2 separate regions of the Homo sapiens genome follow, and region 1 is linked to region 2. The links are contacts of gene promoters, found by promoter capture Hi-C in blood cells and fetal thymus (Javierre and others, 2016). All regions are on one chromosome and are shown on one strand. Each heading gives the region's core, a stretch centred on a gene start or on the middle of the fragment in contact. The rest is flanking DNA. Distances are from core to core; before and after follow the strand shown. Region 1 holds the start of CD1E (CD1e molecule). Region 2 holds the start of CD1A (CD1a molecule).

Region 1 (7,561 bases), core at 687-3,186, 99 kb before region 2:
TCACTAGGAAGAAGAAGATAGAAAAAAAATGGAATTTTGAAGGGCACCCCAGGCCAGAGCTCAGAGACTCAGGTGCCTTTGTAATAATACTAAGAGTGATTTAGTAATCACTTCTTTCTCTTGTCTAAGAAACAGTCCTGAACCCACACATCTCATTCTCTAGTCTCTCACTATGTCTTTCAAAATGATGATGAGAGGCAAATTCAAATATGAGAGTTATAGTACTAGGAACAAGAGGGGAGAGAGAGAGTTGGGCTCACCTTTCCGTTTCAGTTCTGACTCCCCTGCTTCCATGAGCCCCGCTAGAAATCGAGGGCAGGTGTGACCAAGAAGGCTTTGCAGTATTTCCTTAATATCTAGGTAGCGATTGAGCACTTTACAGATGTTCTGGGCCCGGATCCCTGCTCCTGGAGATGGCTCCCAGGAAATTCCTTGGAAACTCAGGAAATCTGACCCTTGATATGCCATATTTAAGAAGATTTGTGGGGCATTCATTCTACAGCCAGCTAATATCTGGATCTCGAAGGGGTCTGAGAGTGGACAGGGAAGAGAGATCATTATGGAAAGAATGACAAGGAAGAAAAACAAACAATTTAGACAGTAAAGAGATTCAAGGGAAGAAAAATTTGCTGGGAAATCATATGGAGACTAGAGTTTACTGGCAAAGGGGAAGAAAATTTGTGGGAAGAAAATTTGAAGATAATAAAGATACTTTGAAATAACTAATGGGAAAGTGGTAGATGGGAAGGCTATCAGGAAGATAGGAGATTGGTCATAAATAATTCACGTGAAAGTGGTTAGGTACAGGCCAGTCCATGTCAACACTCAGGCAAAGGATAAAGAAGGGCAGAAAGAGGGTTGAGAAAGGCTGAGTCTGAGGGCAGGAATGAGGGGCAGAAGATCCAGAGGAGACAATCATTCCAAAGAGCCAGACATGAAGCTATATTCATGTTGAGATATGTACATGCAGGCCCTTTTGTGTATATGGTGGAGTGTGGGTGGTGGTGAAGGGTGAAGCAGAGGAGGGAGTGGGAGTCAGAGAGTGGGGAACAAGGTTAGTAAGGTTAAATGATGGTCAGAGTCTATATACTATCTTCCACTTTGGAAAATAGTTGGTGTTCCCAGGCAAATTATCAGCTTAGAGCAACGAACTTACATTCAAGCTGAAATTGACCAGCAGAAGCTTGCACTATCTGGATAAAACTATGGAAGTATAACTGGAACAGTGACTGTAAGTTTTTCAGCTCCTGCTTGCTGAAGTTTCCATGGGACCAGGGCTTCAGAAAGCGGATGGTGCCCAAGACAGTGTCCCAGCCATGAGTCTGCAGGTCACCCAGCCATCCTGAGCCCTCACTGTGTGCCCAGCTGTGGTTGGCAAAGGAGGAAGTTTGGAGCATGCGGAAGGACAGCTGCTCCTCTGCTGCTAGATGATAGGATTGTAGAGCCTGGGGAGCTGAGAGAGAGGGAAATGACAAGTAGAGAGAATGTAAAGGGATGGGAAAAGTGATGCCAAAGGGAAAAAAGGAACCCAGAGATGAGAGACAGTTAGGTAGCTTGTACATACTCCAATACCCTTTTCCTGTGGGGCCAGCTTCCTTTCTCCAAAATCAGAGACAAAAACTGAGACTGAGAGCAAGAATTCTCTGCCTGGAACTAGCCTGAAAGGCATATTCCAAGGGCATCCTAGAAGAGTACTGCTCCCTTCCCCCAGGACCTCCCCAGAGCTTCCTCTCAGCCCTCTGGTGCCCTACCATAGGTATCTTTCCACCTGCACTCTTCTTACCTGCTGTATTTTCCCCAGGACAGCAGAGACCCTCGAAGAGGAGGAACAGGAGCAGCATTGAAGCTCTGTTAAAGGAGGGATTCCTTGGCAGGACACCTGCCCTAATAATTCAGATATCAGTACCCCTCTCCACACCCTCTTGCACTCTCGTCTGACTTCCCTTGCTGTACAGACAGACAAACCTCTCCCTCTGCTGACTTCCCTGTCAGAGAAGCCACACTGCCTCGCTTTGCTGCAGCCTCCCACGGGGTTTTTCATTTCCCCTCTGCCTCTCTCACTGTCTGGCTCCAGATTTTCTCCCTGCTCTTGTGTACATCCTCCCAACCTCCCTAATTGCACTAACTGCTGGAAAACGAGTCCTGGCTTAAAACAAAGTCTGTGGTCTGGCTAGAAGATGGAGTAGCTTTTGGCCTTGTAGAAATCAAATCCATACTTGGCTTGTCAATAATCTAATCTGTGAGAAGTGATGGTAGTCACTCAGTGGTGCCTAGTGACCTATCCACCAGTCTCCCACTTCTACCTCTCTGTGATCCTCTCCTCCGCCTGTATCTCTTCACTCTGCTCTTGATCATGATCAGAAGACACTCAGCATCCTGGATGTAGCTGCATAATAAGCAGGCAACCCTCCATAATCCAACTCTCTGTGCTGCTGAAAAAGGAGCAGCAATGGCAATGCAGATTATCAGAAAATCTAAAGAAAGCTCCTTTTTTTCAGTTTCCCCAGTCAAGCCAACTGTCACTGTTAAAGTGGTCCATGAGTGGGCTTGACCTGGAAGTGGTGAGCTAGAGGGCAGGTAGATTTCACCCATGTTTTACAGGTGGCTCTGGAGGAAATACATAGGGGACTTGGATCCCCATCTCTACCCAAACGAAGAAAGCATGTCTGGAAGTCTGTGGGCCAGCTTTGCCCTGGGTATGAAGAAAGACTGAGGGCAGGCATGAAGCTCCTCATTAGTTCATGGCCTGAGAGCATTGGAGTCCCCTTGCTTGCGTTCGGTTAGAGAGCAGTTTGGGTGGACACAGGGAAGTACCTTTAGAGGACTGAAGTGTTCACTGGAGAATTAATTGAGTCTTTATTTTTGTTTCTTTTTCATTGATATTTGTTGTGACACTCTGAAGGCAGTTGAAATAACATTCCTTTGTTTGGTTTTTATATATTTGTTCAACTGACATTTATTCAGAGCCCACCTATGACCAAAAACAATTGCCAGGCCCTAAGATATCAGAGATAGACATCTTTGGGAAAAAATAAAACAAAATTCAACCCCAAACCTCTACTTTTCTTATACAGTAAATTTACTGAACGGTGGTCAGAATTATTGAAAAAGGTCCAAACCTAGTTTCATCTTATTATCATTTCTAAATTCTAAGTTAAAAGAAAGATAAAAAGTTTCCTTGTTTCCTGAGTAGAATATCTACATTTATTTTCAATACTCTTTCTGTGCTGGAGAGGTGCTGGAGAGGATGTGGAGAAATAGGAACACTTTTACACTGTTGGTGGGACTGTAAACTAGTTCAACCATTGTGGAAGTCAGGGTGGCGATTCCTCAGGGATCTAGAACTAGAAATACCATTTGACCCAGCCATCCCATTACTGGGTATATACACAAAGGATTATAAATCATGTTGCTATAAAGACACATGCACACGTATGTTTATTGTGGCACTATTCACAATAACAAAGACTTGGAACCAACCCAAATGTCCAACAATGATAGACTGGATTAAGAAAATGTGGCACATATACACCATGAAATACTATGCAGCCATAAAAAATGATGAGTTCATGTCCTTTGTAGGGACATGGATGAAGCTGGAAACCATCATTCTCAGCAAACTATCACAAGGACAAAAAACCAAACACCGCATGTTCTCACTCATAGGTGGGAATTGAACAATGAGAACACATGGACACAGGAAGAGGAACATCACACACCGGGGCCTGTTGTGGGGTGGGGGGAGGGGGGAGGGATAGCATTAAGAGATATACCTAATGTAAATGACGAGTTAATGGGTGCAGCACACCAACACGACACATGTATACATATGTAACAAACCTTCACGTTGTGCACATGTACCCTAGAACTTAAAGTATAATAATAAAAAATAAATAAATAAATAAAAATAATTAAAAAAAGAAAAAAAAACTGCAAACAAAAAAACAAAAGAAAAAGGTCCAAACCTAGTTTCATCTTATTATCATTTCTAAATTCTAAGGTTAAAGAAAGATTAAAAAAAGTTTCCTTGTTTCCTGAGTAGAATGTCTACATTTATTTTCAATACTCTTTCTTTTCTACAAATACATTCAAAGCTATAAGTTGCTATGTAAATCTATCTATAAATCGCTATGTAAATCCAAAATTGGTTTCATAATAAAATTATGAACAGTAAACAAAGATAAATATTCAAGAGAATATATAATAACCTACAAAAACAATAATACATAATAAAAAGATTGGAATGACCTATGCCAAACATCAATACTACAAGTAACTGTATTCCTTAGAATTTTTGTTTTGTTTTGTTTTTTCCTGAGACGGAGTCTTGCTGTCTTGCTCTGTTGCCCAGGCTGCAGTGCAGCCACAGGATCTCGGCTCATTGCAACCCCCGAATCCCTGGTTCAAACGACTCTCCTGCCTCAGCCTCCTGAGCAGCTGGGATTACAGGCAAGAGCCACCATGACCATCTATTTTTTGTATTTTTAGTAGAGACAGGGTTTCTTCATGTTGACCAAGACGGTCTCGATCTCCTGACCTCGTGATCCACCCGCCTCGGCCTCCCAAAGTGCTGAGATTACAGGCGTGAGCAACCGTGCCCCGGCCATTAGAATTTTTGAATCAGGCCAGGCACGGTGGCTCACACCCGTAATCCCAGCACTTTGGGAAGCCAAGGCAGGCGAATTCGAGACCAGCCTTGCCAACATGGCGAAACCCTGTCTCTACCAAAAAAAGTAAAAATTAGCCAGGTGCCATGATGTGTGCCTGTAATTCCAGCTACTCAGGAGGCTGAGGCAGGAGAATTGCTTGAGCCTAGGAGGTGGAGATTGCAGGGAACTGAGATTGTGCCACTGTACTACATCCTGGGCAGGAGAGTGTGACTCTGTTTCAAAAAAAAAAAAAAGAGGGAGAATTTTAAAATCATTTGCAAAGTAAAATAAAGCAAAGTATATTTAGAGAATAAAACAATGTTGTTATTCCACAAAAAATTGCACTTTTATGTAAGTAAAGATAACCACACCCTAGTTTTTAATTTTGAGGCTACAGAACTCACAGATAACTGCAAATTACTGAGCAAAGTAGAAATAATGTCTGACAGCAACCCCATAATCATTAACAAAATAATGAAATTCCTTCTAAATTAAAATTATCCAGAAGATAAATTCCAAAGAAAAAATATATATTAATTTTAATTTTTGTAACATTATATGGTACAATTATTTCCTTCCTGCTTTACAAAATTCCATCAGTGGGCCAGGCACAGTGGCTCACTCCTGTAATCCCAGCACTTTGGGAGGCCGAGGCAGGCAGATCAGGAGGTCAGGAGATCGAGACCATCCTGGCTAACACGGTGAAACCCCTCTCTACTAAAAATACAAAAAAATTAGCAGGGCGTGGTGGCACGTGCCTATGGTCCCAGCTATTCGAGAAGCTGAGGCAAGAGAATCGCTTGAACCTGGGAGGCAGAGGTTGCAGTGAGCCAAGATTGTGCCACTGCACTCCAGCCTGGGCAACAGAGAAAGACTCCGTCTCAAAAAAAAAAAAAAAAAAAATATTCCATCAGTGCCTAACCACATTTTTTACTAAAAATACTTAGTGTCTGTGGCCAGAGGTCTCTTTTAAAAAGAAATTCCCCCTCTTATGTTTTCCTGAGGCTGCCCCAGTCACATTCGCAGATCCCCTTTTGCCAAAACCAGAAAATTCTCTCAAAACATATTATAAGATGTGCCTTTGGACAACTTAATCTTTCTATGTAAGAAATTTATGGGAGATAACTCATTAAAATTGATTTAAAATAAAATTTTTGAGTACATTTGTACAAATGTAAGAAAATGTTCCATCTGCTAATTTTTTTTCAAAGAATTTAAATACGAGTTTTATTCTTTTGGCTTATTTTCAGGAAAGATTGCAATTTCTACATACTTATTTTCTTGTTTGTGTATACTTACATTTCTTTAACATTTATTCAAATATATTTTTCAGCTTTAGTGAGGTACAACCAACAAATAAAAATTGAGTATAAAAAAGTATTTATTGCCACTGAGCTGTACATTTTAAAATGGTGAAGATGATAAATTATATATTTATATTCTACCTTAATTTTTTTTAAATTGGGTATACTTAAGGTGCACAACATGATGTTATGATATATGTATATACTGTGAAGTAATCGCCACAGTCAAGTTATTACCATATCCATCACTTCACATAGTTACATTTTTTCTTTTTTTTTTCTTTTTGAGACGGATTCTCACTCTGTCACCCAGGCTGGAGTGCAGTGGCATTGAGAGGTGACAGCGTGCTGGCAGTCCTCACAGACCTTGCTTGCTCTCGGTGCCTCCTCTGCCTGGGCTCCCACTTTGGCAGCACTTGAGAAGCCTTTCAGCCCGCCGCTGCACTGTAGGAGCCCCTTTCTGGGCTGGCCAAGGCCGGAGCCGGCTCCCTCAGCTTGCAGGGAGGTGTGGAGGGAGAGGCGCGAGCGGGAACCTGGGCTGCGGGCGGTTCCAGCTGGAGTGCAGGGTGGGCGTGGGCTTGGCGGGCCTGCACTCGGAGCAGCCAGCCGGCCCTGCCGGCCCCGAGCAATGAGAGACTTAGCACCCGGGCCAGCGGCTGCGGAGGGTGTACTGGATCCCCCAGCAGTGCCAGCCCACCAGCGCTGTGCTTGATTTCTCACCAGGCCTTAGCTGCCTCCCCGTGGGGCAGGGCTCGGGACCTGCAGCCCGCCATGCCTGAGACTCCCACCCCCTCCATGGGCTCCTGTGCGGCCGGAGCCTCCCCGATGAGCGCAGCCCCCTGCTCCACGGCGCCCAGTCCCATCAACCACCCAAGGGCTGAGGAGTGCGGGTTCACGGCGGGGGACTGGCAGGCAGCTCCATCTGCAGCCCCAGTGCAGGATCCACTAGGTGAAGCCAGCTGGGATCCTGAGTCTGGTGGGAACGTGGAGAATCTTTATGTCTAGCTCAGGGATTGTAAATACACCAATTGGCATTCTGTCTCTAGCTCAAGGTTTGTAAACACACCAATCAGCACCCTGTGTCTAGCTCAGGGTTTGTGAATGCACCAATGAACACTCTGTATCTAGCTACTCTGGTGGGGCCTTGGAGAACCTTTGTGTCCACACTCTGTATCTAGCTAATCTGGTGGGGACGTGGAGAACATTTGTGTCTAGCTCAGGGATTGTAAACTCGCCAATCAGCACCCTGTCAAAACAGACTACTTGGCTCTACCAATCAGCAGGATGTGGGTGGGGCCAGATAAAAGAATAAAAGCAGGCTGCCCCCAGCTAGCAGTGGCAACCCGCTGGGGTCCCCTTCCACACTGTGGAAGCTTTGTTCTTTCGCTCTTTGCAATAAATCTTGCTACTGCTCACTCTTTGGGTCCACACTGCCTTTATGAGCTGTAACACTCACCTCGAAGGTCTGCAGCTTCACTCCTGAAGCCAGCGAGACCACGAGCCCACCGGGAGGAACGAGCAACTCCAGACGTGCTGCCTTAAGAGCTGTAACACTCATTGCGAAGGTCTGCAGCTTCACTCCTGAGCCAGCGAGACCACGAACCCACC
Region 2 (7,458 bases), core at 3,816-6,315:
GTAGTCTATATAGTGCCAACTTCTGCACATTTTTGGGTTTTTGGTTGGTGATTTCACAATCTTAAATGGTCCCAAGTGTAGTGCTTAAGTGCTGTCGCATTTTCCTAAGCATAAGAAAGCTGTGACATGCCTTACAGAGATAAATAAATAAATAAATAAAAATAATAAATAAATAAATAAATAAAATAAATAAATAAATAAAAATAAATCAACAGTGCAGTACATGCAGGAAAAGGGGGAGGAAATTCACCCATCTGTAGGTGAGGCTGCTTGGGAAAGTAACATCTATAATGCTATGCTGAAGCTATGGGAAAATAGCTACATTTGTGGATTCATGAAATGACAACCATTTTTTTTAAGTGTAGTGGACAGCAATGTTGTGAAGCTGAAAACCAAAGAAATTTGTGATCATGTTAACCAAGGTCAGGAATATATTAAACACTTCGTAGATAGTGTTTTATTATAAAGAAATACTGCATATAATGAATTAATTATATATACATATATAAAATAAGATGTTTTTAAACAGAAACACACATAAAACCAGCTTATGTATTCACCAGTTGACAAAAATGTTGTGAAAAATCTCACAAGAGCCTAACACCTGTATTTCCCCTGGGAACAATGGCTCATTGCTCACAAATTCAGTATTTGCAGCAACTGCACACAACATAACTGCCATGAATAATGAGAAGGTGCAGTAGGTACATTACTTGCCTTGATCTCACTTCAATCTTCAGGAGTAACACTCTTGTTCCCTTTTTTGATCATTTTCAATTCAGTGACACACTTGTACTACATCTCAGGCATCACCAGCATCAGTGCCTCACAAATTTTAATGGACATGTGAGTATCCTGCTGATTTTCCAAAACACAAATTATAATTCAGTAAACCTAAGGTGAGGCCCACATTCTACCTTTCTAACAAGCTCCAATGTGAGAACTCTGCTGCTTTTCCCTGAACCACTGAATAGTAAAGATATACATCCTGCCTTGCATACCTGGAACAATAATTTAACTCGAAGAGCTCTCTATAGTTGAATGATAGGAGTAGTAAGAGGCAAAATTGTGTTTCTCCTCTGGAGCTCAGAGAACAAACTATAGAACTAGGAATGTGTAAAATTTCCTCCAAGTGAGAAGACTTTTAAGCAGAAGAGTATCAAATGTCTCAACTACTTCAAAAGCACCAGGAAGGAAAAGAATAAGAAAACACTACAAATTTGGCATAAATTCAACACAGAGTTTTATTGAGAACATGTTTCATGCAGGCAAGATCCTTCACCAGGGATGCATATATTAAAAATACATGTACTTTGCATTGAAGGAGCTGAAAAATTAGAAGGAAAGGGGGGATCTAAATAACTGCAATGAAGAAGAGGAAGTGAGGAGCACAGTTAGCAAAGTACGGCTAAAATGTGGCGGGAGTTCAGACCAGGAAGAGACTGCTTCCCACTTGTAAGTCAGGGAAGGCCCTCTGGAGTAAGGGATATCTAAAACAGGCCTGATGATCCATTAATAGTTGAACATGTGGAGGTTGCTAGGACCCCATTCCATCTGGAGATAAAATTTGAATTTAAAAGTCCCAGAACCCAGGTCAGAACAACAAATCCTGCAAAATTAAATTGAGCTTATATTGACAAACAATCATTAATCAGAAACAAGCAAAAATAACAAAATTTTTACAAAGAGAGTTGAGAGGACGTCATCATCACGATGTGTTCAGGTGTGTCTGGAGCCCTTGGGCTGCTGGTCTCTCACCCCAAAAGGAGAAGGGTGACGAGGAGGCTCATGGTGTGTCTTAACAGAAACTGGATGAGAACAGAGATAGAAGTCACTCTGAATAAGGTGGAGCTGAGAATTGAGGAGCAAGAGGGAAGGGGACTGGGGAGAGAAGAACTGAGGAGAGAAAAACAAAAAACATGGGAAGAAAAGTGGGGTAGAGGCTAAGAGTAGGAAAGACACATGCAAAGAACTCACCAGCGTTTCCTGAACCAAAGCGCAAGACCTATCAGAAGAAGTAAAGGCACTATCACCGCCAAGATGATGAAGCCCACGGAACTGTGATGCTCTGTGAATTTGGGGAGACACCAAGGATGTTATAATCCATCCCATTTTACCTCATCCACTCCCTATTTCACTGCATTCCCTGGGCTTCTTTTTTTCATTTGAGTATCCAACTTACCAATCTCCTTTTTTTCTATGTTTTTCTCTCATCCCTGCTCAGAGATGGATTCTTCAGTTAACCCTCAGCATCCTCCTGCATCTACAGGGCCCTCATTTTCAACATTTCCATTTCTTAGATTATCTATTTTTATTCATGTTTGGGCTATAATCCCTAAAATCCTAAAATTTTCAGCTTGCCCTCCCTCTATGCCTGAGGTCCACTTCCTGGCATTTCCAGCCTGGGCCTTAGCTTTTTCTCACCCCAGTAGAGGACGATGTCCTGGCCCTCTAGACTGCTGTGCTTCACCCGACAGGACAGGTCAGCTGCCTCCCCAGCGGCCACCTCCAGGGTTGCGCGGAGATACCATGTCCCATCAGCACTGGGCAAGATGTCCCCTCGCTGAGTGCCCTGCTGCTCCTGCTCACCCCGCATCCACATCACCCACACGGGCTTTGGGTAGAATCCTGAGACATGGCACACAAGCTGCAGATGGCCAGGGCCAGGACTGGGGCCATGGGACAGCCAGGCCTCGGGCTTCACTGCAAAGGACAGAAAAGATATTCAAATACAGACTTGGAGTTTCATATCTCCACAACAGTTTAGAAGTTTAGATAGACACATTGTTCCCATTTCTCTTTTTTTTTTTTTTGAGACAGGGTCTCACTCTGTCACTATGCTGCAATGCAGTGGCATAATTATAAATTATAGCTCACTGTAACCTCAAACTGTTAGGCTCAAGCGATCCTCCTGCCTCAGCCTCTTAAGTAACTGGGACTACAGGTGTGTACCACCATGACTGGCTAACTTATTTTTATTTTTTAGAGACACTGGTCTCACTCTGTTGCTCAGGCTGGTCTGGGACTCCTGCCCTTAAGAAGTCCTCCAGCCTCAGCTTCCCAAAGTACTGGGATTACAGATGTGAGGCACTGCACCCAGCCTTTCCCACTTCTGGGTGGCTCTTCCTTATTCTAAATTGGAAGGAGGTGGTGGAAGGGTATGATTTTCAAATCAAAACTTCTTGGAGGGAGAGTGCAGGACTGACCTTGCCGCTGGAGATGTGCCTTTCCTGCATCAAGAAGACCCAAGATGAAACGTGGGCAGGTGTCACTGAGAAGATTGTGTGTTATGTCATTTTCATGCTGATTCTGATTGAGCACTTTGCAGAAATGCTTGGCCATATTCCCAGCCACTGGATATGGCAACCATGAATTGTTCTGGAAGCTCACAAAGTCTGATCCTTGATAAGCTAACTGCAAGAAGCTTCCTGAGACCTTTCCAGAGTGCAGCTCACAGCCTCCTGTCACCTGTATCTCAAAAGGATCTGGGGTTATGAAATAGAGGAAAGAGGGAGAAAAAAATATAAAATGAAATGAGTAGAAGCAAAGATTATAGAAGCAGAAGGGGGAAGTGTGCAGGGTTTGACATAATGGAATAAAATTTGGTTTGGTCAGGGATTCAGAGAAAGAGGAATTGGTGGGAGCTGTAGGTGGAGGAAAAGATTAATAACATGAGGAAGAGGGCAAACTGGTCAAAGAAGGTGATGTGAATGCTGTGGGTGAGCAAGGACCTGGTGTAAGAGAACTGGGATTATAACAACTTAGGTTGAATTAAATGCAATGGGTTACAATTGAGTATATATAGAGAGACTGCTGAAGAGAATGAATGAGAAAGTGAGAAAGCTGAAGGTATCTGGTTGTAGGGCAGGCAGAAGGGTGGTCCTGGGATACCTGTAAGAAAAGATAATAATGCACAACCCTGCAATCAATGAGAGAGGAGTTCATAAGTAGCAGAAGTGTTTGGAGAATTAAGGTCTGGATGATAGCCCTTGCCCAAAAGTATGCAATTGCAGTTTTATGGTGGAAAGAATAGAATAAGATACAGAAGAGAGTCAGGCTGTTTCCTAAAGGAATAAGAAACATTGAGACAACCCCTCTCTCCCACCTCACCACTCTCCATGGAGAAAACTGAACTCACATTCAAACTGCAATTCATGGGCGTATCTACGAATTCCCTCAAATGACCGAATGGTGCGTATACGGAATAATGTTTCCAGTTCCTTCCACTCCTCATTGCTGAAGTTTCCCCTGGACCAGGGGCACAGGAAAACGATGGTGCTGGAATTGCTGTCCCAGGTATGAGTCTGCAAATCACTCAGCCAACCTGAGACCAGATTTTGTTTCCAGGAATGGTTGTAAAAGGATGCGATCCAGGTGACATGGAAGGAGAGAGGCTCCTTGAGCCCTGCGACAAAAGAACAGATAGAATGGGGAGAAAGACATTGAGAAAGAGGATGGAGAGAGAAAGGTGCCAGAGTGCGGGAACTCAGAATCTGGAGAAAAGGGGATCCATCATGATCTTAGCAGACATTCACTTGCCACACAGTCCCATGCCTTATCAACCACCTTCATAAGAGCTCAGGGACCTGGAGTCATGGATAGTCAGAATGGAACCAGCCTGGCACTCTCACTTTCCAGGTATATGCTAGGGAAACCACACACACACACACACACACACACACACACACACACACACACACACAGAGAGAGAGAGAGAGACCTTCACCCACCACCCAACTGGGCAGTTGTCAGAGTTCTTACCGTCTGCATTGCCATCACCTGGGAGAACAGCTAACAATGGAAGTAGCAAAAACAGCATATCATTTGCAGATGTTATTTCCTTCTCTCAGAAAAATTGGTCTTTGATTTCTGTTCCAAACAAACCTACCCCACGATATCTCTATTCTGACTTCTTTCTGCAGCCAACAGACAAACCTCCCCTGACTGCAACAAAGAAAATCCACTCCTTCAAAAACCCTGAGATGCCTACTCAGTCTCTCATTTCCCTCTGGTTCTGACTCTCCTCTCTGTTCCAGCTTCTCTCCTTGTCACCAACCTCCAACTTATTCACCTTCCCCTAATTCAACTGCTATGGAACAAGTCTGATGTGGCATTGAAAAGCCACTTAACCACTAAGGACATTTTTTTCTCAATCATACAATAAGAGCATAAAGTGAAATGGCTCCCAGTGTGCTGCCCAATGCTCCCATGTCCCTGCTCTTTTTGATCACTCTGTCCTTTTCAATATTTTCCCATGTATTCTCTTCCCCTGTCTCTTCAGCCCCTTACTACATTCACATTTCTGATTTAACATTGATTTATTTGCTTTTTCAGAGTCTCCTACGACTGCCCTGTGCGACAGTACAAACTAACACCTTTTCTCCATTATTCTTAGAGAAGAGCCAGTAACCATCACAAAAAAAAAAAAAAAAAAAAAAAAAAAAAAAAAAAAAAAAACCACAGGAACACTAAAACATATAAAGAAAATTTCCTCTGTTTGATTTTCATTGATATACATTCACTCACCCAACAGTCTCTCTTAGCACCTGCCTGGAGTCAAGCATCTTGGTACACTTAAGAATATGCAGTGGTTGACAACACAATCACTTTACTGAAGGAGCTTTTTCTCTACTTAGGGAGAAAAACACGCCATGAAATATAAATCTTGGTGTACTGAGTTTTATTATACTGTATACACTCTCTGGATAAAAACAAGGCCTGCTTGAAATAATATTTTCTAAAATGGGGGCTCCTAACTAATGTACGCCAGCCCAGAATTTTGACTTCAATGTTTGACTTGGAGTGTTAGTTCCATACAGTTATCATACTGTATCCCCACCTAACAGAGTATCTCACAAGTGGTAGGTGCTTAGTGAATATTTGTCAAATGAATGAATGAATTCAGTCTATGCATCCATTTTTTAATTATGGAGGTGATATTCAACATGAAACTTTTTAAAGATATCATAAAAGTTACTTGTAACCCTATGTAGTGAGATGAGAATCTCATACAGTTTTATTTAGGATAAAAGTACAAGTTACTGGCATGAGATTTACATAAAAGATCCTGCTATAAATGTCCTATTACTTATAAGAAACTAGTCAGAACTTGTGAGCAGTGAAGTTAATGGAGTATTCCAAAGTCTTTATCCCAGGATCCCTTTTTATTAGTCCTATTTGGATGTTTCAGGGTTGTTTTGTTATAAATGAGTCTTTGCCGGACACATTTACATTCCTCTTTTACGCTGCTTGTAACTGTTGAAGGGCTTCTAAATATATGTTTGTGCTTTGTAGATATCATCCATATAAATGTGTCTGGGCTATTTACTATTTTTTGGTTTTCAAAAAAAAAGTATCTGAAGCTAATTTAGGGGGAAAAAATTTTTTTTCTTGAGACAGGGTTTCACTCTGTTACTCAGGCTGGAGTGCAGTGGAATAATCATAGCTCACTGTAACCTCCAACTCCCGGCCTCAAGCAATCCTCCTGTGTCAGCCTCCCAAAGTGCTGGGATTGTTGGCATGAGCCACCAGGCATGGCCTGCAAATAATTTTTTTATTTGTTTTTTGTTTTGTTTTGTTTTGTTTTGTTTTGAGACAGAGTCTCACTCTGTCACCCAGGCTGGAGTTCAGTGGCATGATCTCAGCTCACTGCAACCTCTGCCTCCCAGGTTAAAGCAATTGTCCTGCCTCGGTTTTGCAAGTAACTGGGATTACAGGTATGCACCACCATGCCTGGCTAACTTTGATATTATTAATAGAGATGGGGTTTCACCATGTTGGTCTCAAACTCCTGACCTCAGATGATCCACCTGCCTCAGCCTCCCAAAGTGCTGGGATTACAGATAATTTTTTTAAAGTTAAGATTAGCATGCAAAAAGCTGGAAAGAGCTTCATTTTCATACTTATAATTTTTTGAAGCCAGATTATCAAAATCATAACTTGAATTTATCAAAGAACTGAAATATCAAGGCAACCAGTTAACCCAAAATATAAAGAAAGACAGACTCCTCAAAGGACAGATGGAATGCAAACCCTTGTTTACTTGGGACAGATGCCAGATATTATACAAGCCAGTAAGAATAAGAATTCAGCTAAAATTTTAGACAAATTAGTAAAGGCTAGCATGAGTATATAGAAGCCCTGGGAGTCACAAAAACAGGGAAATTCGCATCAGTCTCTAAGCCTTTTTCTATGAACCTCACCAGGGTCTTCTGAAACATTAGGGTCAGAGATGTAGACCAGATAAATCCTCTCTCATGATGCGGGCCTGAGGTATGAGAACAGCTACTGCATGGGAAGGGTAGTAAGTCCCAACCAGACCCATCTCCTCTATTGCAACATAGAAAAAAAAAAAAACCGTGGCCGGGTGCGGTGGCTCACACCTGTAATCTCAGCACTTTGGGAGGCCAACGTGGGCGGATCACAAGGTCAGGAGTTCGAGACCAACCTGGCCAACAT

The links. Contacts are between HindIII fragments. The CHiCAGO score rates a contact against its expected background, and 5 or more counts as called.
Region 1: a contact is called between the fragment with the promoter of CD1E here and the fragment with the promoter of CD1A in region 2, in 1 of 17 cell types (fetal thymus). The highest score is 5.0, in fetal thymus.

Annotation. Positions count from the first base shown.
Region 1 is chr1:158,348,269-158,355,829 of GRCh38, reverse strand. It overlaps CD1E (CD1e molecule), which reads right to left and starts at 1,936. Exons shown (of 6, transcript NM_030893.4): 1 at 1,784-1,936; 2 at 1,157-1,453; 3 at 261-530; 4 at 1-3. The coding sequence starts at 1,841. The HindIII fragment of the contact is 6,143 bases long and covers 1,186-7,328 here.
Region 2 is chr1:158,252,031-158,259,488 of GRCh38, reverse strand. CD1A (CD1a molecule) reads right to left here and starts at 5,065. Exons shown (of 6, transcript NM_001763.3): 1 at 4,762-5,065; 2 at 4,139-4,405; 3 at 3,207-3,485; 4 at 2,425-2,703; 5 at 1,978-2,068; 6 at 1,220-1,808. The coding sequence starts at 4,819. The coding sequence ends at 1,799. The HindIII fragment of the contact is 5,152 bases long and covers 3,427-7,458 here.